Linked DNA regions of Homo sapiens: all the other regions are linked to region 2. Evidence: promoter capture Hi-C in 16 types of primary human blood cells and fetal thymus (Javierre and others, 2016). All regions are on one chromosome and are shown on one strand. Each heading gives the region's core, a stretch centred on a gene start or on the middle of the fragment in contact. The rest is flanking DNA. Distances are from core to core; before and after follow the strand shown. Region 1 overlaps CTPS2 (CTP synthase 2). Region 2 holds the start of PIGA (phosphatidylinositol glycan anchor biosynthesis class A). Region 3 has its middle 15 kb from the start of GEMIN8. Region 4 overlaps LOC124905249 (a long non-coding RNA gene). Region 5 has its middle 11 kb from the start of TXLNG.

Region 1 (4,673 bases), core at 114-2,613, 1.3 Mb before region 2:
GAGTCTTTCTGATGGAAATGCCCATCATTTAGAATTAAAGTGTGGATCGCTGTTGGTATTGAAGCCTCTTAAATCTTCCTAGCATGTGAGAAGGCAGAAAATTTCTTAAGCAAATTACTATTTGTTTACTTTGTTTAAGTACTTATTCACTTTTAATTCTTCTGGTTGTCATTATTGTCATCAAATACTTAGAAGGTTCTTTCATCATAAGGATTTAGATTCCCACTGGGGCTTTCAAATTTCATGTGGATTGAAAAGGAAATGAGAGCTGCTATAAAACCTTGCAGTTTTTAAAAGCGGACTGCAAGCAGTTATTAAGGAAAATTCCCCAGAAGATTTTGATCTTAGATACCCCTTGGAAACATATCCACGAATCTCCACTGTTCCTGAAGGGTTCTGAGAGGAACAACAAAGCTTGAGATTAATATTATATAATGTCAGAATTTGGTTTAAAGCAATCAACAGCATTATTTTAAAGATAATTTTATCTAACTGATAGAACATCATCAAAATAAAAACTTTTTACTTTCTCCTCATATTGGCATAGAGGATTTTTTGGATAAAGTGATTCAGAGCAATGATCCATTCATTCACATAGTCTGTCCCTGGCTATTACATGATTACATTGCTCAGCATCTGTCTGTAGTGATACAAAAGCACAGTTACTGTCTGCTTTTTTTTCAAAGATGTCCCTAGATGTTATGCAGTAAGATTTATTGTCTCTTAAATTTTAAGCTACATTGCTTAATTTCTTCTCTAAGTGCGGATGATTTCTCTGCGTTTCTTGAGGGAATACATTCCTGGGAGAAGGTGGCATTCCCCTTATCAGGCTTTCTTACCTGCATATTCCTCTAATTCAAGGAGGTTTCTTCTTAGATGTAGAGGATTTCTACACTGGATTTTTCTGGGATCAGAGCTGTCCTATAGAACTCACTGGATTTTTCTGGGATCAGAGCTGTCCTATAGAACTCACTGCAATGATAGAACTAGTCCACCCTATCCAATATGGTAGCCACTAGCCACATGTAACTTTGAACATGTTTCAAATGCTGAATTAATGTTAATGAATTTAAGTAGCTACATATGGCTAGTGGCTACCATTTTCTATAGCAGAGCTTTTTTTTTTTTTTTTTAATAATTTCAACTTTCATTTTGGATGCAGGGAGTACATGCGCAGTTTTTTTTGTTTGTTTGTTTTTGTTTTTGAGATAGGGTCTCACCCTGTCACCCAGGCTGGAGTGCAGTGGTATTATCATGGCTCATGGCAACCTCCACCTCCTGGGCTGAAGCGATCCTCCCATCTCAGCCTCCCAAGTAGCTGGAACCACAGGTGCACGCCACCACGCCCAGCTAATTTTTGTATTTTTTGTACAGACAGGGTTTCACCATATTGCCCCGGCTGGTCTCGAGCTCCTAGGCTCAAGAAATCTGCCCACCTTGGCCTCCCAGAGTGCTGGGATTACAGGCATGAGTTACTGTGCTTGGCCCACGTGCAGATTTGTTACATGGTTATATTGTGTGATGCTAAGGTTTAGGGTATGGATCCCATCACCCAAGTACTGACTAGAGTACCCAACAGATAGTTTTTCAACTCTTGCACTCCCCTTTCCTTCCTCCCTCTGGTAGTTCCCAGTGTCTATTGTTCCCATCTTTATGTCCATAAGTACCCAATGTTTAGCTCCCATTTATAAGTGAGAACATGCAGTATTTGGTTTTCTGTTTCCGTGTTAATTCGTTTAGAATAATGGCCCCCAGCTGCATCCATGTTGCTGCAAAGGACATGGTTTCGTTTTTATGGCTGCATACTATTCCATGGTATATATGTGCCACATTTTCTTTATCCATTCCACCATTGATAGGCATCTAGTTGATTCCATGGCTTTGCTATTGTGAATACTGCTGCCATGAACATGTAAGTGCATGTGTCTTTTTTGTAGAATGATTTATTTTCCTTTGGGTATATACCCAGTAATGGGATTACTGAGTTGAATGGTAATTCTGGTTTAAGTTCTTTGAGAAATCTCCAAACTGCTTTCCACAGTGGCTGAAATAACTTACATTCCCACCAACAGTATGTTTTCTTTTCTCCACAGCCTTGCCAGCATCTGCTGTTTTTTGACTTTTTTAATAATAGCTGTTCTAGCAGGGCTTTAAATGATTACCTTAAGAAAGTAGACATTTGCATTCAATCATCATTTCCTTATTACTGTAGTAGTAGCTTTGGATCTTTGCTGGTAAGTGATGGGAATTTGTGATTTTGAATTCCATACTAGATTTTAGATCATTTGATAAAGCACCTCATTGAAAGCTTTAAAGTTATATTTACTTCCCCCTCTTAAACTTATTATATTTTATTATCTTTAGTTTGAGTCATAGCCAGGGACAGGATATTTGAATGAATGGATCATTGCTCTGAATCACTTTGTTCAAAAAATGCTCAGTTTTGTGGTGCTATGAGTAATACCCAACTTAAAGCTGTGACTAGAAAAGCAATTGTCCTCGTTGGGTTCCCAAGGGTAGCCCAATGGGTTGATATTGTGCTGGTTTATCCCAGGGGACACTTACCCTGGGAAAGGAGAAGACCTTGCAGGAAATGGCCTGAAGCCACCTAAAGAAAGAAAGACCCAGGGTTAGCCTAAAGTCCAAGGGAAATTGAACCAACATAAATCTACAAAGTGCCTTCAAAAAGCAGGCAGATTTGGGGAAAGTGGAATTCTTCTTGCCATTCAAAAATTTTTGCTTGACTTTGCTCACTCTGACACCTTCCGCACATAAAATTTCCAAGATGTGTTTTACAATTTGAAATTCCACGAAGGAATGGATGGATAGTGAAAGTAACTGGCTGTAATGATAACAGGTTAAAGAATCATCTTACCATTTAATGAGTTTTCATATTCAAAGATAAGAAGATCTTTAAAGCAGTTCTCCTGTTTGTCTGCTTTAATCGCATCGTGATTGTTCTCATTTCAGATCATCCTTATTTTGTTGGTGTCCAGTTCCATCCTGAGTTTTCTTCTAGGCCGATGAAGCCTTCCCCTCCGTATCTGGGGCTGTTACTTGCAGCAACTGGGAACCTGAATGCCTACTTGCAACAGGGTTGCAAACTGTCTTCCAGGTAACCAGCTTACTGCTCTTAGCAATAAACCAAGATGCATAGTTATTAATATCTTAGGGTTTCTTACAAAAATTAATACCACTATAGAATTTTTAAATGTGAAGAATCAGTTTTTTTCTCTTAAACATAATTTTCTTCTCTTTGTGAAAATGATTTAATCACACCTACGGTAGTAATGTGTCAGCTTTCCAAATCGTGATGACACTGGGTATTATTTTAGAAATTTTTTTCATTTTGATAAGTGAAAAGATTGTCTTTTGTTGATTCTTTGATTAATATATATGAATTTTTATATGTTTATTGGCTGTTTGTTTTATGAATAGTTTGTTCATATCTTTTCTTCATTTTGGTATTGTATTATTTTCCTTACTGATTGGTAAGCTCTTTATGTATAAAGGTCATTAATCCTTTGTTAGGCTGCAAATATTTTTCAAAGTGATTTTGCTTTCCTTCTAAATTGTTAATGGTAGTTTTGTTCTCCCTAAAGAGTTTAGTCCTTTTTTATGTTTTTTAAAAATGTATGTAGTCAAATATTTTACTTTTGTGGCTTCTGCCTTTACTCTCATGCCTAACATCTTTCCTTATGGAAAGATTATATAAATAATAACCCCTGTGTTTTCCTCTAGCATTTTTCTGGTTTCAATTTCATAGTTTAAATCTATAATCTATATGGATTTTATTTTCAGTGAAACCTGTGAGGTTGGGATTTGGCTCCCTACTTCCCTGCCAAATTGTCAACGAGTTGAGTAATTTGACTTTGTTTCAGGGATTTCTATTTTGTTCCATTGATGATTTTATCTCTTACACCTGAACCTTTGCCATCCTTTTCATTTTCATAGCATTATTATAAATCAGGACCTTATCGATCCTACTCCCACCATTATTAACATGTTTAGTGTGTTTTGCTATTCCTCCAGGCAAACTGTTATTTATTTATTATTTTCTTAGAGATAAGGTCTGGCTCTGTCACCCAGGCTGGAGTGCAGTAGCACAATCATAGCTCACTGCAGCCTTGAACTCCTAGGCTCAAGAAATCCTCCTGCCTCAGTCTCCCAATTAGCTGGGACTACAGGCACACACCACCATGCCTGGCTAATTTTTTTAATTTATTATTTTTGTAGAGACAAGGTCTCACTATATTGTCCAGGCTGGTCTTGAATTCTTGACCTCAAGCAATCCTCCTGCCTTGACCTCCCAAAGTGCTGGCATTATAGGTATGAGCCACTGTGCCCAGCCTGTACAATGCTTTTTAAAAATCAAGTTTGAATAAAAAATTCCTTAGGGATTTTAAAATTAAATTAAATTAAATTAATTTATTTATTTATTTAGGGACAGGGTCTTGCTCTGTTGCTCAGGCTGGAGTGCAGTGGAGCAATCTCAGCTCACTGCAACCTCCACCTCCCAGGTTCAAGAGATTCTCCTGCCTCAGCCTCCCAAGTAGCCGGGACTACAGGTGTGTGCCACCATGCCTGGCTAATTTTTGTATTTTTTAGTAGAGACAGGGTTTCACCATGTTGGCCAGGCTGGTCTCGAACTCCTGACCTTAAAGTGATTTGCT
Region 2 (4,907 bases), core at 926-3,425:
TTAAGGCAGGACACCATAATTAGAATCATCTCCAGATTTATATCTTAATCTTGCTACTACAAATTTCTTTTGACTTTTTAGAATATAGCCTTAAATGGAGACCTTTACTTAACTGACTATAAATGAAGTCATGTACCCAGGTGAGATTATGAACCCTTGGGAGTCGGAATCATGATTTATTTATCTTTTAATGCTCAGTGCCTAGGACAGAAGCTGGAGCTTTAAATAAATGTTCAATGTTTTCAGACTTTGTTGGAACAGCCTGCAGGCTCCTCAACGCCCTCCCCCACAGAGACTCAGCAACAGTGTGCCTCTATTAATATCTATTTATAAAGGTCAGCCTATTCTATATTTGAAACACAAAGAACCTTTTAAGAAAGGTGGATTTCTTTTGACTATTGATAACATGTACAGGAAAAGCTAGAAAAAATAAAAAGCTGTTGAAACACAGGGACTATGCTTAATATTTCTTGTATTCCCCACAAGGCCTTTTACAGAGCAGACATCCAGTAAATGTTTGATGATAAAAATAAGAAATATTTGTTATATTTTGAAAAAAGATTCATGGTGGAATTTCAAACGTGTACTGTGATCAGAACTATGGCAGGGGCAAACCAGGGGCTCAATAAGTGAGGCTTAACCCTCATTTATACCTTCCAGGATTTCTACCCCCACTCTTTGTCTTAAAACCTATTACAAAAATGGAAAGGAGGCCAAATGCTGTACCTATCTGGTAATGTCGCTGTTATCTGTGAAACCAACTACAAATTATAAAGCTTAATTAAGTGTCCTTGAGTCTTCATCACTGTAATTCTCCGATGCTTCATCAATATTAACACAGGGCAAAGTATCGATTGCTACTCTAGTCTTACTCATCAACTCATTAATTCGCTTCAAATCTCACAACTAAAATGCTCTTTCAATGATGTTATTGCACTGTAATTTGTATAAGGTACACTCCACGAAATACTGTCAATACATTTTATTGTGAGCATCTAATATGTGTCAGGGAGTGTGCTGACATTGGGTAAAGAAATTCATGTATTAAACTAAAACTTCCTCAACATCCATTACCAAGAACAGATCCTGCCTCAGTTTACTATCTGGCAGGGAAGGCAGACATTTAACAAGCAAATACAATTTCCGTTTTCAGAAAGAAGTCCATGTGAGATCTCAAGAGACAAGTAATCAAGGATCAGGGTGAGGAGGGAGAATGCAATCAGGCAAACAACTTGAATATCATCTGATAAATGTTATACTTTGGCCAGCATGTGGCCAAAGTACTATTAAAATTAAAAAGTGAGAGTATTTCATTCTCTGGAGGCTTGGGGAAAGCATCAGAAAGGAGCAGACATTTTCAGGGATGAATAGGCTTACACTAGGCTTAATAAAATGGGTGCCAGTAACGGTGGCTGTGATGGTACTCAGAAAGGAATTTCTTCTCGAAAACGCACGTATGGCAGGGATGGGGGATTCCAAGTACCAGCTGTGACGCATGGATGACCGTCATACCACTCTCACTGATTCTTTAGCTTCCTAGTCAAGCACCATCGTAACTAGTTGAACCAGTCGAGTGGGAGTTGATATTTCAGATCAGACCTCGTATGTTTCCCTCAGAGTGTAGAATTGCCATATAAATAACAGGATGTCTAGTTAAATTTACATGTCCGATAAAAAACGAATGTGTAGTGAAGTCCCCAATATTTGGTACATGCTTGTATTAAACATCATTTGTGCTTTATCTGAAATTAAAACTTCATAGTTTCATCTGTTTTGACTTTTTGTGTATTTTTATTTATTTATCTGGCAAACGTCCCAGAGCGGTAAGAACCGGCACGGTTTTGCCGTGGCACAGCTGATTACAAACAAAAAGTCTCTCCAATCAGAAGCAAGCGCGCAGAGAACTGGCGTCCGGAATAGAGACGCTGTAACCAGGAAACCAGGGTGAGCACCCACCCTACCGTCGGCCGCTTCTAGGAGACGGGCGCAGGCGCGCGCTGACGTTACATCTCGCGCTTAAGGGTGGGGACGACAGAGCGTCTCTCTCGGACGTGACCTCAGCGCCTCTTTGTGATTGGCTGCCTCGGGGGCGCGGCCCTTGGGCGCGGACGCCCTAGATTGGTGCTGCGGAACAGCAGGGAGGGACTCCGGCTGCAGCCGCGGGAGGTCCGGACACTGGCGGCCATGGAACTCACCGGTGAGTGCGCGTCGCGCCGCCCCTCTCCAGCGCTCTGGGCCGCTTTCGGATGGGGCTGTTCTGCGCGCGTGGGATCGTGGCGGGTGGTGGAGGGGGTGAAACCGACCCGGTTCGAAGCCCGGAAGTTGGGTCGGAGGGTCTCCAGAGTAGGTTGGGGCTGAGGGTGCGTTTAGGGCGGACGCGCTGGGTTCCTTGGCTCAGGCGGGTGGGTCGAGGGACTGGGGTCTCCGGAACCCCGGGCCTGAGACCAACGTCCACTCTTTGGTTGTTTTCTTTCTCTCTTTGGGCCTGGCCATCCCCGCCATGAACCCAGCGGGGTCGCTGTCTGAGCAGGGGTATCCCCTCCTTGGCCCGAGCGTTTCCCCAGCGACCTCTCAGGGAATCAGGGAATGAAGCTCAGACAGTGCCCAGGAATTGTCGGTGGAAGTACCATTCTCTTGACCCACAACTCCTGCCAGGTCTCCCTAAGGTTCTTCAGGAACCTCTACTGCTAATGATTGCCCAGGGCTCGTTGGTCGTGGTCGAGAATTTTACGGTAATGTCTTTGCCACTTTAAGTGGCTGGGTGGGAACCTTGGACAAATCACTCAACTTGTCTGGGTTCTCATTTGTAAAACGAGAGAGGTATTCACTAGAGCTCCAAGCCTCATTTCGGCTTTAAGAGCTAAGATTCTGCGATTGTGCAGCATAATGAACTTTTATGTCAAAGATGTTTGGACTGAAAACCTGGCGGAAGTGGGCAGACTCCTCACAGAACGTTGCAGGCTAATGACAACATTTTAAATGATATCATTTGGTTCATTACTCACTGTTTTTGCTATCGTTCATCTTTTAAAACTGGTAGAACTGGAAGTTCGGGTTTAGGTGACCACAGTAAGAAAATGTTAGTTAAGCCACCTAAAAGTACAAACTTGGGGAATTTCAATATTTGGTAATATTGAATCTTAATTAGTAAACTCAGTCAACAAACACTTCTGGGGTCTTTCCGAGAGTATATTTAAAATGTAGATGAGGCCGGGCACGGTGGCTCACACCTGTAATCCCAGCACTTTGGGAGGCCGAGGCTGGTGGATCACCTGAGGTCAGGGGTTCGAGACCAGCCTGGCCAACATGATGAAACCCCGTCTCTACTAAAAATACAAAAATTAGCTGGGCTTGTGGTGTGCGCCTGTAATTCCAGCTATTCAGGAGGCTGAAGTGGGAGAATCGCTTGAACTCGGGAGGCAGAGGCTGCAGTGAGACGAGATCGCTCCACTGCACACTAGCCTGGGCAACAGAGTGAGACTCCGTCTCAAAAAAAAAAAAAAAAAAAAAAAGTAGATGAATTTGTTGGAGAGACTAGACAGTTAAGCCTTTGCACATACAGTTAATTGGCATTTTCTGAGTTTGCAGGTGAAACCGGAAACTCAGAGCTTTAGGATGGCTTCTCATTGTATAGTTGTTTGTTTTCTGGAGCCTTGGAAATCTCATTTGTAAAGCTGAGGAAGATTTTGACTAGATATCCAAGATTCTTTTTAGCTTTAAGTGTCTAAGAATGTACAGTAGTACTAAATATTGAGTGGGCATTTCACATTAATAAAGCTTTAGGGGACCCCTGAGATAAACATTTCGCACTTTAAATTGAGAAAATGGTCCCAGATACAGCCCATCTCTAGTTTAGCCTTTATCTTTAGACACCGCACTGAAGGGAGGGACACTCATTGAGTTTGAAAGGCCTGCATAACTGATAGAAAAGTTTAAAAAGTGAAGGGAGCAGTTACATAATCACCCTCTTTGGTTTTTGTGTTTCTGTTTTTTGTTTTTGTTTTGTTTTGTTTTTTTGAGATGGAGTCTCGCTGTGTCACCCTGGCTGGAGTGCAGCGGCGCGATCTCGGCTCACTGCAACTTCGGACTCCCGGGTTCAAGCGGTTCTCCTGCCTCAGCCTCCCGAGTAGCTAGGACCACAGGCAGGCACCACCACGCCCAGCTAATTTTTGTATTTTTAATAGAGATGAGGTTTCTTCATGTTGGCCAGGCTGGTCTTGAACTCCTGACCTCAGGTGATCCACCCACCTCAGCCTCCCAAAGTGCTAGGATTACAGGCGTGAGCCACCGCACCCGGCCTAAATAATCACCCTCTTTGAATAAGGAAGGAGAACATGTGTGCAGCATGTGCTCTGGTGACATTTGAAAAAGGTGCTCTCAAAAAGATAGTTCGAGCTCCGGGTGTGTTTTAGTGTAAACCACAAAGGTAATGCTAGCAAAACTTTGAGAGTAATTGAATCAGTGGCTAAGCTATAGAGCAGGGGTTGGCAAACTTTAGTAGAGGACCAGATGGTAAATATTTTCAGCTCTGTGGGTCATATGGTCTCTGTTGTAGCTACTCTGCTCTTGTAGCACAAAAGTAGCCATTCACATAAATGAATGGGCACACCTATGAGCCTATAAAACTTTACAAAAACAGGCAGTGGACCAGTATAACCGAGTTTGGATCCTGGCCTGTTTTAGTTGTCTGTTATTTTTTACCAAACCACCCCAAGACGATGTAAAACAATAGCCATTTTGGTATGTTTCATGATACTGCAGTGAGCTAGGCTCAGCTGGGTGGTTCTCTTGGTCTTGCCAGTGGTCACTAGGAGGCTGCATTTAGCTGGTAAGTTGGCTGGATGGCTGGGCCTCTGGCTCTTTCCATGTAGTCTCAGAGCTCTTCCTTCTCCATATTATCTCTTCCC
Region 3 (4,741 bases), core at 1,065-3,564, 1.3 Mb after region 2:
GTAAAAAATTAGAAACAACTTAAATATCCCCACATAGAAGAAAGACCTAGCAAATTATGATATAGCCATTTGAAGAGACATTTTGAAGCCATACTAAAAACTATTGAATTGTGTATTTTAAATTGGTGAACTATATGGTATGTGAGTTATACCTCAATAAAGTTGTTATAAAAACATGCATAGTTTTGTGCACACTATGAGTACAGGAAAGCATATGCATAGAGAAAAATTCAAATTGTGTGATATGATTATATAATTATAATGACAAAAATTAAAAATGAATCTGATTCATGGACAGCAATCGACATAGGAATTTTCTACCTAATTTTGTGAGCATTCCATATTGTCTTCAGTAAAGATTCATTTATTAGTTTCAAGCCAGATTCAGAACACTTGGGGATGAGGACTGTGAATAGGAGGTGACTCTCCCTAAAAGCCAAATGTAGTATAATAGATTAGAAAGGTGACCGGCAAGCACACAGTAGGTTTGCACTAACTATTAGCTGAGCTTTATTTCTCACATTACATCCTGAGCCCTCTTCTCTCTTCTCCCTACAGTCTCCCTTGAAATCTCATTCTTTCCCATAACTTTGACTCCTTCTGTAGTAGTAAGTCCCAGATTTCTATTTCCAACACAGAGCTTTTTTTTCCCCGAATTTCAAACTCCTGTTGCTATCTGCTTCTTGTTAATAATAAATATAAAGTTTACAAATAAACCGTGTTAATCAGAAAACCAAGCACCACATATTCTCACTTATAAGTGGGAGCTGAACAATGAGGACACATGGACACAGGGAGGAGAACAATACACTGGGGCCTGTCGGGGCATGGGGCCGAGAGCATTAGGGAAAAGAGCTAATGCATGCTGGGCTTAATATCTAGGTGATGGGTTGATAGGTACAGCAAACCACCATGGCACATGTTTACCTATGTAACAAATCTGCACATCATGCACGTGTACCCTAGAGCTTTCAAAAATAATAATAAAATAATAAATAAATAAACTGTGCTCATTGCTGTTAAGCACTTTCCCTTAGAACCTGTACTTAAAAGAATCTCTTTGACTTTTATTTGGCTGAATACAAGCTTTTTATTTGAATACTCCAACCCAATACAATTGTCAAGCTAGTGGTGAGCTGGGGGAGGAAAGTGAAAAGTGGGAGAAGGAATTTAACAGTGTGCTGTGTAACTATCTCCTCTGAATTCCCACTTAAAATTGAAAGCATGTACATGTTCAAAGACAACTCCAGCCTCCAACCCCTTTTTCTCTTCTCCCACTGAACCACGGAATATGAACTCAGATTATCAAGAGATATATCAAACAAATTATCTCAGGGATACTGACAAAAGGCCATAAATGCCCCAGAACAGAAAGACACATATTGTGGTAATAATTTGCACTGTATTAATGCTCCAAATGCATTATCCCATTTAAACCTCCCATCAACTCCAAAGTGGGTGCTAATAATATCTGCATTTTCACATGGGATTCAGGCAAGAATACATTCAGTAAATTGCTCAAGATTACACAGTTAGGAAGTAGAGAAATAAGACTTTGAATGCAGTCAGACTCTAGAGCCTCACTCTGTAGATCAGGGTTCCTTTACCTCAGCACTAGTGACTTTTGGAGCCAGATAATTCTTTGCTATGGCTCTGTCCTGTGCATTGTAGGATGTTGAGCAGCATCCCTGGCCTCTACCCAGTAGATGTCAAAAACAACTCCCCAGCAGTAACAATCAAAAACATCTCCAACATTGACAAATGTCTCCTGGTGGGAAAAAATTGCCTCCAGTTGAGAAATACTGCTATAGATGGGGCAGGGGGAAACTTGCTTAGAGATTAAATACATTGCCAATCTATGACAACTGGTAAATAGCCCAATCTGCATTCAAACTGAGAATGACCTGACTCCATATGCCATTATGCTATATTGATCAACTTGGCAAAAATAAAACAAAATGAAACAAGAGCAAAAAAAAACAGATAGGAATAAAATAAAACAAATAAACTATTATTTTGGAATGATTTGCTTCCATTTAAAGAAAAAGAAACAGAAACAGTCCCTAAAGACTGTTTAAGAAAAAGACTGTTAATGATTGTTAAAGAAAGAGTCCCTGAAATACTTAAACTTAACTAAGAGTAAGCAGAGATGTTCTATAAAGTAGTATTTCTCAAAGTTGGCTACATATTAGAACTATCTAGTGAGCTTTAAAAGTACGGATATCTGGGCCTCATCCCCAAGAGATTCTAGTTTAATTGGTCTGGAATGTGACCTGGGTTTGGGATTTTTAAAAGCTGTTCAAGTGTTTCCAATATGAATTCAAAGCTAAGAACCACTGCTGTAAAGGATTCAACTAGTATTTTATTTCTATGGGTCTTATCAATCATGCATATTAAATTGATTACATACATTTAGTTTAATAGAAAACCAATGGATACCTAATAAATTGAGAGCGTACATTACCCTTAACATTCACTGAGCTACTGATCACCAAATTTGTAGATGTTTATAGGATCATATAGCCAGAAGAGAAAGTATTCTCTAGTTCCTAACCTTTGGACCATCTTGTCCCCCATCATCATTTCCAACAAAAAATTAGCCAAAATTTGAAAGGGTACTGTTATTTCATGATTATTCACAGTGCTTTCAAAGTGTGATGGAAGAATATTTTTTCAGTTATTGGGTAAAATGTGATTTTGGAATGGTTTCAAGACTCTAAACACTTTATTTTGGCTTATTCCAATATGTGTGATTAAGTAATTTTTCTAAACATTAACCTTGTCACTACTACCATGAATAATTCAGAATTCAATAGATACATTCATTTCTAATATGTAATATGTTCAGATAACAATAAGACACCTTAGGTTTTCATTACTGTAGCCGTCAAACTACGGAAGTGATAACATTTGCTTAAATGGCTTTCTATAACAATGACCAGCAAATCTAGCCTAATGTAGACAACACTGTTATTCACTCCAAATATACTCCCTTTCCTTCCATAGACAGTCTATGCCTGCACATGGCAAGCAATAAAACAGTATGAACATTCAGATAATTTATCCAGTGTTGATGATCATTTCTAATTACACTGTACAATAATTTGTCCAGTGATTAGCATTGATTATTACAAAATGGTCACTTCTCAAACATTAATCTAAGCTGACAGGCTCAGAACACAATACCCCAAAATACAGTAGCTTGGCAATTGAGAAAATGGCAGAAGCAGGAAGGTCTCTCTCATCTTCTCCCACCATTCTCCCCTGAAACAGGCCATAGAATCTAGGAAGGTCAGTCTCTGACCCTCTCCTTCCTTTCTCCCCTGAAGACCCTCATATGACAGGTGTCCTGCCCTATACCTAGAGGAAAGAAATGTTACACAGAGAGGCCAAAAAGAATCTGAACAAACAGGCCTTGCTAAGTTCCCCCAAATTTACTACCACTATGTCATATTATTTTGTCCTCCAATCACACTTCTGCATGACTGTCCACAAAAATATGGTTTTCCCTTAGTCTCTGGGTTTTCATTTCTGAAGCTTCCTGTGTTATGTAAAATTTATATTGAGTAAACTTGCTATGCTTTTCTCTTTTTAATCTGTCATTTGTTATTGGGGTTTCAGCCATGAAGGAACCCAAAATATTTCTGTCTAAAACACTGAGGACTATTGACCTGAAGAAGGTTAAAACACCAGAGGACACTCTGCCCCTCCCTCTGCCTGCCTGATGACAGGAGAGCAATTTACAAAGACAAAGGTCTTCCTGTCCTCCTCCCTGACTTTTCCTGCCTACACTTGCTCATCAGCTGAGAGATAACAGTGCCAGAGGACCTAGGAACAAACTTGACTCTTCCCATAAGTTTACCTTCCCACATTTGCCCACCTTTTGGAAGCCTGAAAATGCTCTCTTCTTTGTCTTGTCACTATAGGATTTAAGGCTGTTTGTTGAAATACTATTTAAGCAAGTCCCCTAAGCCACTGCCTTAAGAGAGAAATACTTTTGAACAGAGGCCTCTCCCAAGTGATGGGTACAGCACGTGTCAATAAACTTCTGCTGGTTTTTCTCTTGTTAACGTGACTTTCGTTTTCAGGAGTGTCTCAACTAAGAGAGGGGTAAAAATAAGAAATTATATTTTCTCCCCTATAGTCATGAACCTTATAATGAGTGAGGAAAGACACTCCTTCTCCCCTACAAAGTGTAGATGACTTTTTATACATTGATCCTTGGAATCTGTAAGGTTCTTGAGAATTAAGCAATAGAAACCAAAAATTATGTCCCATTACAAGTTATCTTCCAACCACCATTCTGAAGATTAGGAGGTGGGTTTGCTTATTCGTTTTGTGGTTACTGCAAATTTTGTTGGGTATTTTTTTTGTTTTTTGGAAGAAAGAGAAGGCTTGGAAGTGTAATAAATTTTCCCAAGCCCTGGAAGTGCATAAATACTTTCAAGAGCAGGGTGAAGCTCAACAAATTATAGTATAAACTCTCTTCAATAAAATACCCACACATCCACTGTGGCTAAGGTTGAACTGGAGTCTTATTTTAGACAGCAGAACTAAAAGAAAATAGCACTCACCCTGGGTAGCAGAAATGCCTGAATTTATATAACACCTATATTCACAGAGTTAATGTACAATTTAGTGAAATTAAATTAATTAATTTTTAATTGCACAGAGGGTCCACTCTACTCCTATTTTTAATTCTTTTGTAGGAAGGAAAAAAAAAGGCTCCAGTGAGTTGTAA
Region 4 (4,554 bases), core at 169-2,668, 1.1 Mb before region 2:
ATATATACCACATTGTAATTATCCATTCGTCTGTTGATGGATACTTAGGTTGATTCCATATCTTGGCTATTGTGGACAGTGCTGCAATAAACATGGGAGTGCAGATATCCGTTTGACATATTGATTTCAATTCTTTTGGCAATATACCCAGAAGTGGGATTACTGGATCATATGGTAGTTCTAGTTTTAGTTTTTTGAGGAACCTCCATACCATTTTCCATGATGGCTATACTAATTTACATTTCCACCAACAATGTAAAGGCATCCTCTTTCTCTATATCCTCACCAACACTTGTTATTCTCTATATTTTTGAGAAAAGCCATTTAAGGCTTGTTCTTATATGCTGCCTCTCTTGATGTGCAAGGCTGTTTAAGTTTGAAACGGCACTTGTTATTAAACTGACTTTTGCAGAAGCAGAAGTTGTATCTTAGAATGGTGTAGTAGCTGGCCAATGTAACACAGGTAGTGATTAGTGGAGCTGGGTCCAGGCCACTGACCTAACATCCAGTGGTCTTTTGTGTTTGGCTTCTTTTACTAGCATAATGTTTCTGAGATTCATCCAAGTTGTAGCATGTATCAGTGCTTTGTCCCTTTTTATTGCTGAATGGTACTGTGTTGTATGAATATACCACAGTTTATTTATCGATGAACATTTTGATTGCTTCTACAAGTCTTGTAGAGACATATGTCTTCTATAAACATACATCTTCATTCATTTCCCTTAGGTAGATACTTAGGAGTGGAATTGTTGGGTCATATGGTGACTCTCTGACATTTTGAGAAACTACAAGACTGTTTTCCAAAATAAGTGTACTATTTTACAATCTTGGTAGCAATGTATGAGGATTTCCAGTTTCTTCACATCCTCATCTATACTTGTTACTGTTTGTCTTTTAAATTATAACTATTCTAGTGGTTGTGAAATGCTATTTTATTTTGGTTTTGACTTGCATTTTCCTAATGCCTAATGTTGTTGAGTATCTTTTCATCTGCTTATTAGCTATTTGTATATATTTTTGGTAAAATGTTTTTTCAAATCTTTTGCCTATTTAAAAATTTGCTTATTTTTCTTCTTTCAAATTATTTGTTGTATAAAAACTCAACATGAATAAAGGACTGGGAAAGAGAGAATGGCAACTTGGAGAACCTGGTGGTTAGATATACCTATAGCATGAATCTTATTAGAAGGCTAAAGAGGTAGGCATGGTCCTGACCTTGTAGAATTGCACTATCCAGTATGGTGGCTGCTAACCACATGACATGATGGATTATGGAGCATGTCAAAGGTGGCTAGTCCAATTTGAGTTGTGCTGTAAGGGTAAAACGCACACCAGATTTTAAAGACTTGCTATGAAAAACTGAATGTAAAGCATCTCATCAATAATTTTTGAATTATTACATATTAAGATGATACTATTTTGAAAATATTGACTAAAATAAAATACAGTATTAAAATTAATTCTATTTTTTAAAATAAAAAATGGCTACTATGAAATTTAAAATTACATACATGGCTCCCAATATATTTCCATTACATAGCAATGTTCTAGAACCTTGACCATCAGTAAATTAGATCTTGATATGTAGAGAAATGGGAAGGCTTTGATAGGTTTTAAGCATGAGGAAATTATGACCGCTTTTTAAAAAAGAGATTACTTTCAATGCACTGTGGTGAATAGATTGGAGAGGACAGGGAATGGCTGGCCAGGAAATGGAGTAGGCAGCTTTGCAGTAGTCTAGATGATGGATGATAGTCACTTGATAGTGATACAGAACTCAATAGTCACTTCATAGGGAAAAACAGCGTTCTGTTCAATATCTCAAATCTACTCAGAATTTTGTAGAAAATACTAAACATTTATGTGTCTCTCAGGGCTAATATCATCTGGAATATACTTTCAGAGGGAGCTACTTAAAATTCTAGACTCTTCTGTGTCTAAGGTGAAGACCACAGGTTACCTGGATCACATACCCTTGTAGGGAAGAGCCACTTAAATAGCAACTCTATACTATGCAAAATGTGGTGCTAGATCATGGTAAAGATTTGGCTTTGACCCTGAGTGAGGGGAACCATTGGAGGCTTTGGAGCACACGAGTGATGTGACCATCAGGTCATTGCTTGTTAATTGGATAACACTGGCCACTGCACTGAGAATAGACTGAAGGGAGTGAGGGTGGGAGAGGGAGGGCCCTGCGATTTAAGCAATTCTTTATTGTTAGGCATTTTCATTGTTTCTAATTTTCTCTAATTTTAAACAACAGAGTAATCAATGTTGTGCAAAATTTTATTACATCCTTCATTCATTTTCTTAAGATAAATTCCAAGAAAAGTGGCAGTTGTGGTCAATGGGGACATCTGTTATTACAGCTTTTGATATATCTTGCCAAATTGCCTTCTAGAAATTTGGACACAGCTTAAATTGCCACTGCTGTGTAGGAGAGTGTCTGCTTCCTTCTTCTTGTGCCAGCCCTTGGCAATGTTACTATTTCTTAAACTTAATCAAGCAAGAGTTCCAAGTATGCCTTTAAAATAATTCTCATATGAATTAGTCCACATTTTTCTTCATGAAACACTTCTCCCCATTGTGTCCTAGTTCAGCTATTTTATTAAACTTTAGGTAAATTATATATTCAATCATTTCAGGCTAGTGATGACAATTTATTAAATTTTTTCTGTTCCTAAAGGTGGGAGGATCTTGTCAAACTGGCACATAATTTGATTTCTACTTCTTTAATATTTTTAAAAGGAATGAAATGATAAACCCAAAATAAGTAGAGAAAAGCAAGCTCTGAACACTTTTTTTGAACTTGTGAGATATTAAACTTTTGGTAAATTTCTAATCGAGGCACGTATACACCATGGAATACTATGCAGCCATAAAAAAGAATGAGTTCATGTCCTTTGCAGGGACATGGATGAAGCTGGAAGCCATCATTCTCAGCAAACTAACACAGGAACAGAAAACCAAACACTGCACGTTCTCACTTATAAGGGGGAGTTGAACAATGCGAACACATGGACACAGGGAAGGGAACATCACACACTGGGGCCTGTTGGCGGGGGCGGGGGAGGGGGGCAAGAGGAGCGAGAGCATTAGGACAAATACCTAATGCATGCAGGGCTTTAAACCTAGATAATGGGTTGATAGGTGCAGCAAACCACCATAGCACATGTATGCCTATGTAACAAACCTGCACATTCTGCACATGTATCCCAGAACTTAAAGTAAAATAAATAAATTAAAAAAGCAATCTAGACTTACCTGTTGGGAGAAAAAGCATAAAGGTAAATAAACTATGTTTATAAATATGCATGCATGTATTTAAGTATAAGTTCTATTTCTCTCTGTTCCCTGGAAAGTCACAGGTTGAAATTAATTTTAAGAGAACATTGACCAGGCCCCTTAAAGGTTAAATTAAACTGAGGGGTGCTACTGCAATTTAATTACGTTTTCATCTTTTCGGATTAGTCATTGAATACAGATTGAAATCCTATTTTCACACATCTCTATAGGTCACCTAAATGGCTTGTTCAAAATTCTAATTTTTTTTCCCTCATGAATAATTTCCCTCAAAAGGTAACCTTTCTTCTCTATGGGCATAATAAAAGTGTTTATGTAAAAATGGCAAAGGAAAATGGATTATATTTTGTAACATACTGAGTTGTGAAGCAGAATTATGCCTTTGTACTATGAAGCTGTTCTTTTCTTTTTCCAAATGTGAAGATTTAGAAGCGAGGTGACCCGCTATTGTAGCTATGTGAAGAGGGGGAGAATCAGGGCTCCCATTACAGAGCGTAGGAGGGATGATGAATACCATAGTGAGGTTTAGTGCCACTTAAGAGCCAAAAAATTTCTGTCACAAACCTACCCCTGCTGTCTCACATTTCTGATATTAGTTCCCATTGATTGTTTCATTGCTCCTCATTGATTCTTCCAGAAATTTCTTCCTCCTTCCTAATGTCCTTTGGCTTTGCATCTCATGCCATCAGACTTCACCACTTTCTCCTCTTTCTTGTTGCAGTCATCTCCAGAGTCCTGGGTCATTCTTCTTTCTTGAAGAGTACAAGGAAGAACGCTTCCTGTCATTCTTTCCAGCACTGCTCCAGCATAATTCCTGGTGATTTAAATACAGTTGATTCTCATTATTTGGGGTAGTTAGGGTGTATAAACTTGCGATGAACACCGAATCAGTGAATACTAAACATCGTTCCTAGGGGAAAAGCACAAGTTCCTGCAAGCTTCTGGTAACTACATTGTCATGAATAGATCAAACATAACCCTGTTTTATATATGTTTCTGTCTAAAGACACCTTGTTTAATATATATTGTTGATTCATTAACATTGAACTTACAGCTAGAATGCATGCTTGAAAGAAGCTTTTCTAACACAAATTATGTATTTATGTATTTATTTATTTATTTTCCCATAAGGTACATCACAGCCTTCTTGTACTTAGGAGTGCTAGGCAGCACTAAGCTTGAGGACCATTTTTAGGTTTTTTGTTTTTTTGAGACAGGATCTCACCATATCACCTAGGCTGGAGTACAGTG
Region 5 (4,655 bases), core at 1,100-3,599, 1.4 Mb before region 2:
ACTGCGCCCAGCCGAACAATTTTTTCAAGTTTTTTTTTTTGTTTCATTTTGTTTTAAGAAACAGAATCTCTTTCTCTGTGTTACCCTGGCTGGAGTATAGTGGTTTTCATCCTAGCCCACTACAGCGTCAAATTGGGCGACAGAGTAAGACCTTGTCTCAAAAAAAAAAAAAAAAAAAGAGAGAAAAGAAAAGGGCTGGGCTCGGTGGTTCACGCCTGTAATCCCAGCACTTTGGGAGGCCAAGGCAGGTGGATCACCTGAGGTCAGTAGTTCGAGACCAGCCTGGCCAACATGGTGAAATCTCATCTCTACTAAAAAGAAAACACAAAAATTAGGCCAGGCACGGTGGTTCATGCCTGTAATCCCAGCACTTTGGGAGGCCAAGGTGGGCAGATCACTTGAGGTTGGGAGTTCACGACCAGGCTGACCAACATGGAGAAACCCCGTTTCTACTAAAAAATACAAAATTAGCCAGTCGTGGTGGCGCATGCCTGTAATCCCAGCTACTTGGGCCGCTGAGGCAGGAGAATTGCTTGAACCCGGGAGGCGGAGATTGCGGTCAGCTGAGATCGCACCATTGCACTCCAACCTGGGCAATAAGAGTGAAACTCCATCTTAAAAAAAAAAAAAATTAACTGGATGTAGGGGCGCGTGCCTGTAATCCCAGCTACTTGGGAGGCTGAGGCAGGGGAATTGCTTGAACCTGGGAGGTGGAGGTTGCAGTGAACTGAGATCGCACCACCGACAGAGCAAGAATCCGTCTCAAGAAAAAGAAAAAAGAGAAGAGAAGAGAAGAAAAGAGAAGAGAAAAGAAAGGGGAACCATCCTGGCCAACCTGGTGAAACCCCGTCTCTACTAAAAATACAAAAAATTAGCCAGGCATAGTGGTGGAAGCCTGTAATCTCAGCTACTCGGGAGGCTGAGGCAGTAGAATCCCTTGAACCCAGGAGGCAGAGGTTGCAGTGAGCTGAGATTGTGCCACTGCACTCTATCCTGGGCGACAGAGTGAGACTCAAAAAAAAAAAAAAAAAAGAAAAAAGAAAGAAAAAAGAAAAAGAAAGAAATCAGCATCCAGTTTAAACCACTGTAATTCTGGATTTTTCTGTCACTTGCCATCAAGCTGATTCTGAAATCACAGAAAGATATATATAGATTTGCTTCTAGGGAAGAGGGTCTATGCTTTTTCACTCACAGTCACACACACACACACACACACACACACACACACACACACAGATGCTCACTTCCTCCCATCATCACATCATCCTCTCTAAATGGTTGTTTTCATTTTGTTAATTTAATATCTTAATTTTTTTTACATTATTTTCATGTAGATATTATTCACAACCTAGTTGTATAGTATCCTATTAATAATTTCTTTTTTATGTTTCTTTTTTCTTTTTTTAAAATTGAGATAGGGTCTTGCTCTGTTGCCCAGGCTGGTCTCAAACTCCTGGACTCAAGTGATCCTCCCACCTCAGTGGGAGCCACGGTGCCCTGCTCCATGTTTCTTATCTTTTCTCTTCTATTTTCCTATATCCTGTTTTGCTACAGACAGTTCCAGGGTTACAATTTTTGATGTTGCGATGGTGCCAAAGTTGTATGAATTTGACTTTGAGTACCCATACAACCATTCTGTTTTTCACTTTCAGTACAAGTATTCAATAAAGCACATGAGATATTCAACACTTTATTATAAAACAGCTTTGTGTTTGATGATTTTGACCAACTGTAGGCTAATATAAGTATTATGAGCTTGGCCAGGAGTAGTGGCTTACGCCTGTAATCCCAGTACTTTGGGAGGCCGAGGTGGGCAGATCACCTGAGGTCAGGAGTTCGAGACACACCTGGCTAACATGGTGAAACCCCATCTCTACTAAAATACAAAAATTAGCCGGGCGTGGTGGCTGGCGCCTGTAATCCCAGCTACTTGGGAGGCTGAGGCACGCGAATCACTTGAACCTGGGAGGCAGAGGTTGCAGTGAGCCGAGATCGTCTCACTGCACTCCAGCCCGGGCAATAGAGCAAGACTCCGTCTCAAAAAAACAAAGTATTATGAGCTTACATTAAGGTAGGCTAGGCTAAGTTATGATGTTTGGTAGGTTAAGTGTATTTTTTTTTTTTCCGAGATGGAGTCTTGCTCTGTCTTGCCCAAGCTGGAGTGCAGTGTCACCATCTTGGCTCACTGTGGCCTCCACCTCCCAGGTTCAAGCAATTCTTCTATCTCAGCCTCCCGAGTAGCTGAGACTACAGGCATGTGCCACTACACCTGGCTAATTTTGTATTTTTAGTAGAGAAGGGGTTTCACCATGTTGGCCAGGCTGGTCTCGAACTCCTGACCTCAGGTGATCCACCCGCCTTGGCCTCTCAAAGTGCTGGGGTTACAGGCATGAGCCACCACGCCCGGCCAGGTTAAGTGTATTAAATGCATTTTCCACTTATGATATTTTCAACTTCTGATGGGTTTATTGGAACATAACGCCATCATAAGTCAGGAAACATCTGTACTTTGTAGATGATCTCAACTTTGTCTTCTAATACTACTAATGAAGTTTTGATCAATGTCATATTTTATTTACTTTTTATTTAATTATTAATTTGTGAGACAAGTCTTGCTCTGTCACCAAGGCTGGAGTGCAGTGGTGTGATCATAGCTCACTGCAGCCTCTACCTCCAGGGCTCAAGTTGAGGCAGGAAAATAGGATCTGGAGGTAGGGAATATAAGGCCGATTCACACTTCAGCTATGACAGGAAATAGCCTCTCCATAGGGCGTAGGCCAAGTAAATGATTGTAACTTTACTTTATCCTCTTCATTTACATAGGGCATACCTCAAGTAGAGGTTATTTTTAAACTCCCAAAAATTCTGAAACAGGGCCTTTGAGCTATGCTTGGGCCTGCTCAAACCCTGTGGAGTGTACTTTCATTTTCAATAAATCCCTTCATTCCTTCCTTGCTTTGTGCGTTTTGTCTAATTCTTTGCTCAAGACGCCAAGAACCTGGACACTCTTCCCGGGTAGCAAAGTGATCCTCCCACCTCAGCCTCCCAAATAGCTGGGACTAGAGGCATGCACCACCATGCCTGGCTAATTTTTATTTATTTATTTCATTTTATTGGTAGAGACTTGGTGTTACTATGTTGCCCAGGCTGGTCTTGAACTCCTGGGCTCAAAGGATCCTCCCTCCTTGGCCTTCCAAAGTGCTGGGATTGGTGTGAGCCACTGCCCCCAGTCTGCAGGACAATTCTTTTTTTTTTTTTTTTTGAGACAGAGTTTCACTCTTGTTGCTCAGGCTGGAGTGCAATGGCCCCATCTTGGCTCACTGCAACCTCTGCCTCCTGGGGTCAAGCAATTCTCCTGCCTCAGCCTCCCAAGTAGTTGGGATTACAGGCATGCACCACCACCACGCTTGGCTAATTTTGTATTCTTAGTAGAGACGGGGTTTCACCATGTTGTTCAGGCTGGTCTTGAACTCCTGACATCAGGTGATCCTCCTGCCTTGGCATCCCAAAGTGCTGGGATTACAGGCGTGAGCCACCACGCCAGGCTGACAATTCTTGAAGAGTAAATAGCTTTTCCCATCAAAAGGAATCAAGATTCCTTGAAGAAATGCCTGCTTCCAGGTCTGAGGAAAGGAAATGTAAATTATTACCGATTTTTCTTATTTTTCCTACTATGTTAAGCACAGAAATTCCCAAAAACATAACCACAAATAGTTAAAAAAATATATAAAAAAAAGATGGCCAAGTGCGGGTGGCTCACGTCTGTACTCCCAGCACTTTGGGAGGCCAAGGCGGGCGGATCACCTGAGGTCGGGAGTTCGAGACCAGCCTGACCAACATGGAGAAACCCCGTCTCTACTAAAAATACAAAATTGGCCCGGTGTGGTGGCACATGCCTGTAATCTCAGCTACTTGGGAGGCTGAGGCAGGAGAATCGCTTGAACCCGGGAGGCGGAGGTTGCGGAGAGCCGAGATCACGCCATTGCACTCCAACCTGGGCAACAAGAGCGAAACTCCGTCTCAAAAAAAAAAAAAAAAAAAGATATAGCCGCCATTTTGGTGTAAGCCTCCCGAGTCTTTTCTATGCATATGAGGCAGGAGAATAGGGTCCGGAGGCAGGGAACCTAAGGCCGATTCAAGCTGGCTTTCTAGAACTAAGTCAATGGCCGGGCGCGGTGGCTCACGCCTGTAATCCCAGCACTTTGGGAGGCCGAGGCAGGCAGATCACCTGAGGTCGGGAGTTTGAGACCAGCCTGACCAATATGGAGAAACCCTGTCTCTACTAAAAATACAAAATTAGCCGGGCATGGTGGCGCATACCTGTAATCCCAGCTACTCAGGAGGCTGAGGCAGGAGAAGCGCTTGAACCCGGGAGGCGGAGGTTGCGGTGAGCCGAGATCGTGCCATTGCACTCCAGCCTGGGCAATAAGAGTGAAGTCCGTCTCAAAAAAAAAAAAAAAAAAAACTAAGTCAAAAGGAACATCCCAACTTTCCACAGGTAAATAACAAAAGGATTGTAAACTACTCCCTTTGCAAATCCACCCCACCCCCACCCCACCTTTCTGTGCGGCAGATGGAAAATTGAAAGCATTTCTGATTGGTTGCCTTCTTTTCTTTCTTTCTTTTTTTTTTTTTTTTTTTTTTAGGGGGGTGGG

Evidence for each region. The method cuts DNA at HindIII sites, captures the fragments that hold promoters and counts their contacts. A CHiCAGO score of 5 or more calls a contact.
Region 1: a contact is called between a fragment that was not itself captured here and the fragment with the promoter of PIGA in region 2, in 1 of 17 cell types (non-activated CD4 T cells). The highest score is 6.8, in non-activated CD4 T cells.
Region 3: a contact is called between a fragment that was not itself captured here and the fragment with the promoter of PIGA in region 2, in 4 of 17 cell types (M0 macrophages, activated CD4 T cells, neutrophils and 1 more). The highest score is 7.1, in M0 macrophages.
Region 4: a contact is called between a fragment that was not itself captured here and the fragment with the promoter of PIGA in region 2, in 1 of 17 cell types (naive CD8 T cells). The highest score is 5.2, in naive CD8 T cells.
Region 5: a fragment that was not itself captured here is called in contact with the fragment with the promoter of PIGA in region 2 in 1 of 17 cell types (naive CD4 T cells); the score reaches 5.1 in naive CD4 T cells.

What each region holds. Positions count from the first base shown.
Region 1 is chrX:16,607,983-16,612,655 of GRCh38, reverse strand. It overlaps CTPS2 (CTP synthase 2), which reads left to right. Exons shown (of 19, transcript NM_175859.3): 17 at 2,971-3,115. Among named protein-coding and RNA genes, the nearest start is that of MIR548AM, 17 kb to the left of the region's middle. The HindIII fragment of the contact is 1,894 bases long and covers 417-2,310 here.
Region 2 is chrX:15,332,791-15,337,697 of GRCh38, reverse strand. It overlaps PIGA (phosphatidylinositol glycan anchor biosynthesis class A), which reads left to right and starts at 2,175. Exons shown (of 6, transcript NM_002641.4): 1 at 2,175-2,197. RefSeq lists enhancers at 2,244-2,323, 2,374-2,423. The HindIII fragment of the contact is 3,001 bases long and covers 779-3,779 here.
Region 3 is chrX:14,042,421-14,047,161 of GRCh38, reverse strand. No RefSeq gene overlaps it. Among named protein-coding and RNA genes, the nearest start is that of GEMIN8, 15 kb to the right of the region's middle. The HindIII fragment of the contact is 2,451 bases long and covers 1,089-3,539 here.
Region 4 is chrX:16,438,532-16,443,085 of GRCh38, reverse strand. LOC124905249 (a long non-coding RNA gene) reads left to right here. Exons shown (of 2, transcript XR_007068397.1): 2 at 4,025-4,554. Among named protein-coding and RNA genes, the nearest start is that of MIR548AM, 190 kb to the left of the region's middle. The HindIII fragment of the contact is 5,651 bases long and covers 1-4,243 here.
Region 5 is chrX:16,773,015-16,777,669 of GRCh38, reverse strand. No RefSeq gene overlaps it. Among named protein-coding and RNA genes, the nearest start is that of TXLNG, 11 kb to the left of the region's middle. The HindIII fragment of the contact is 6,934 bases long and covers 1-4,655 here.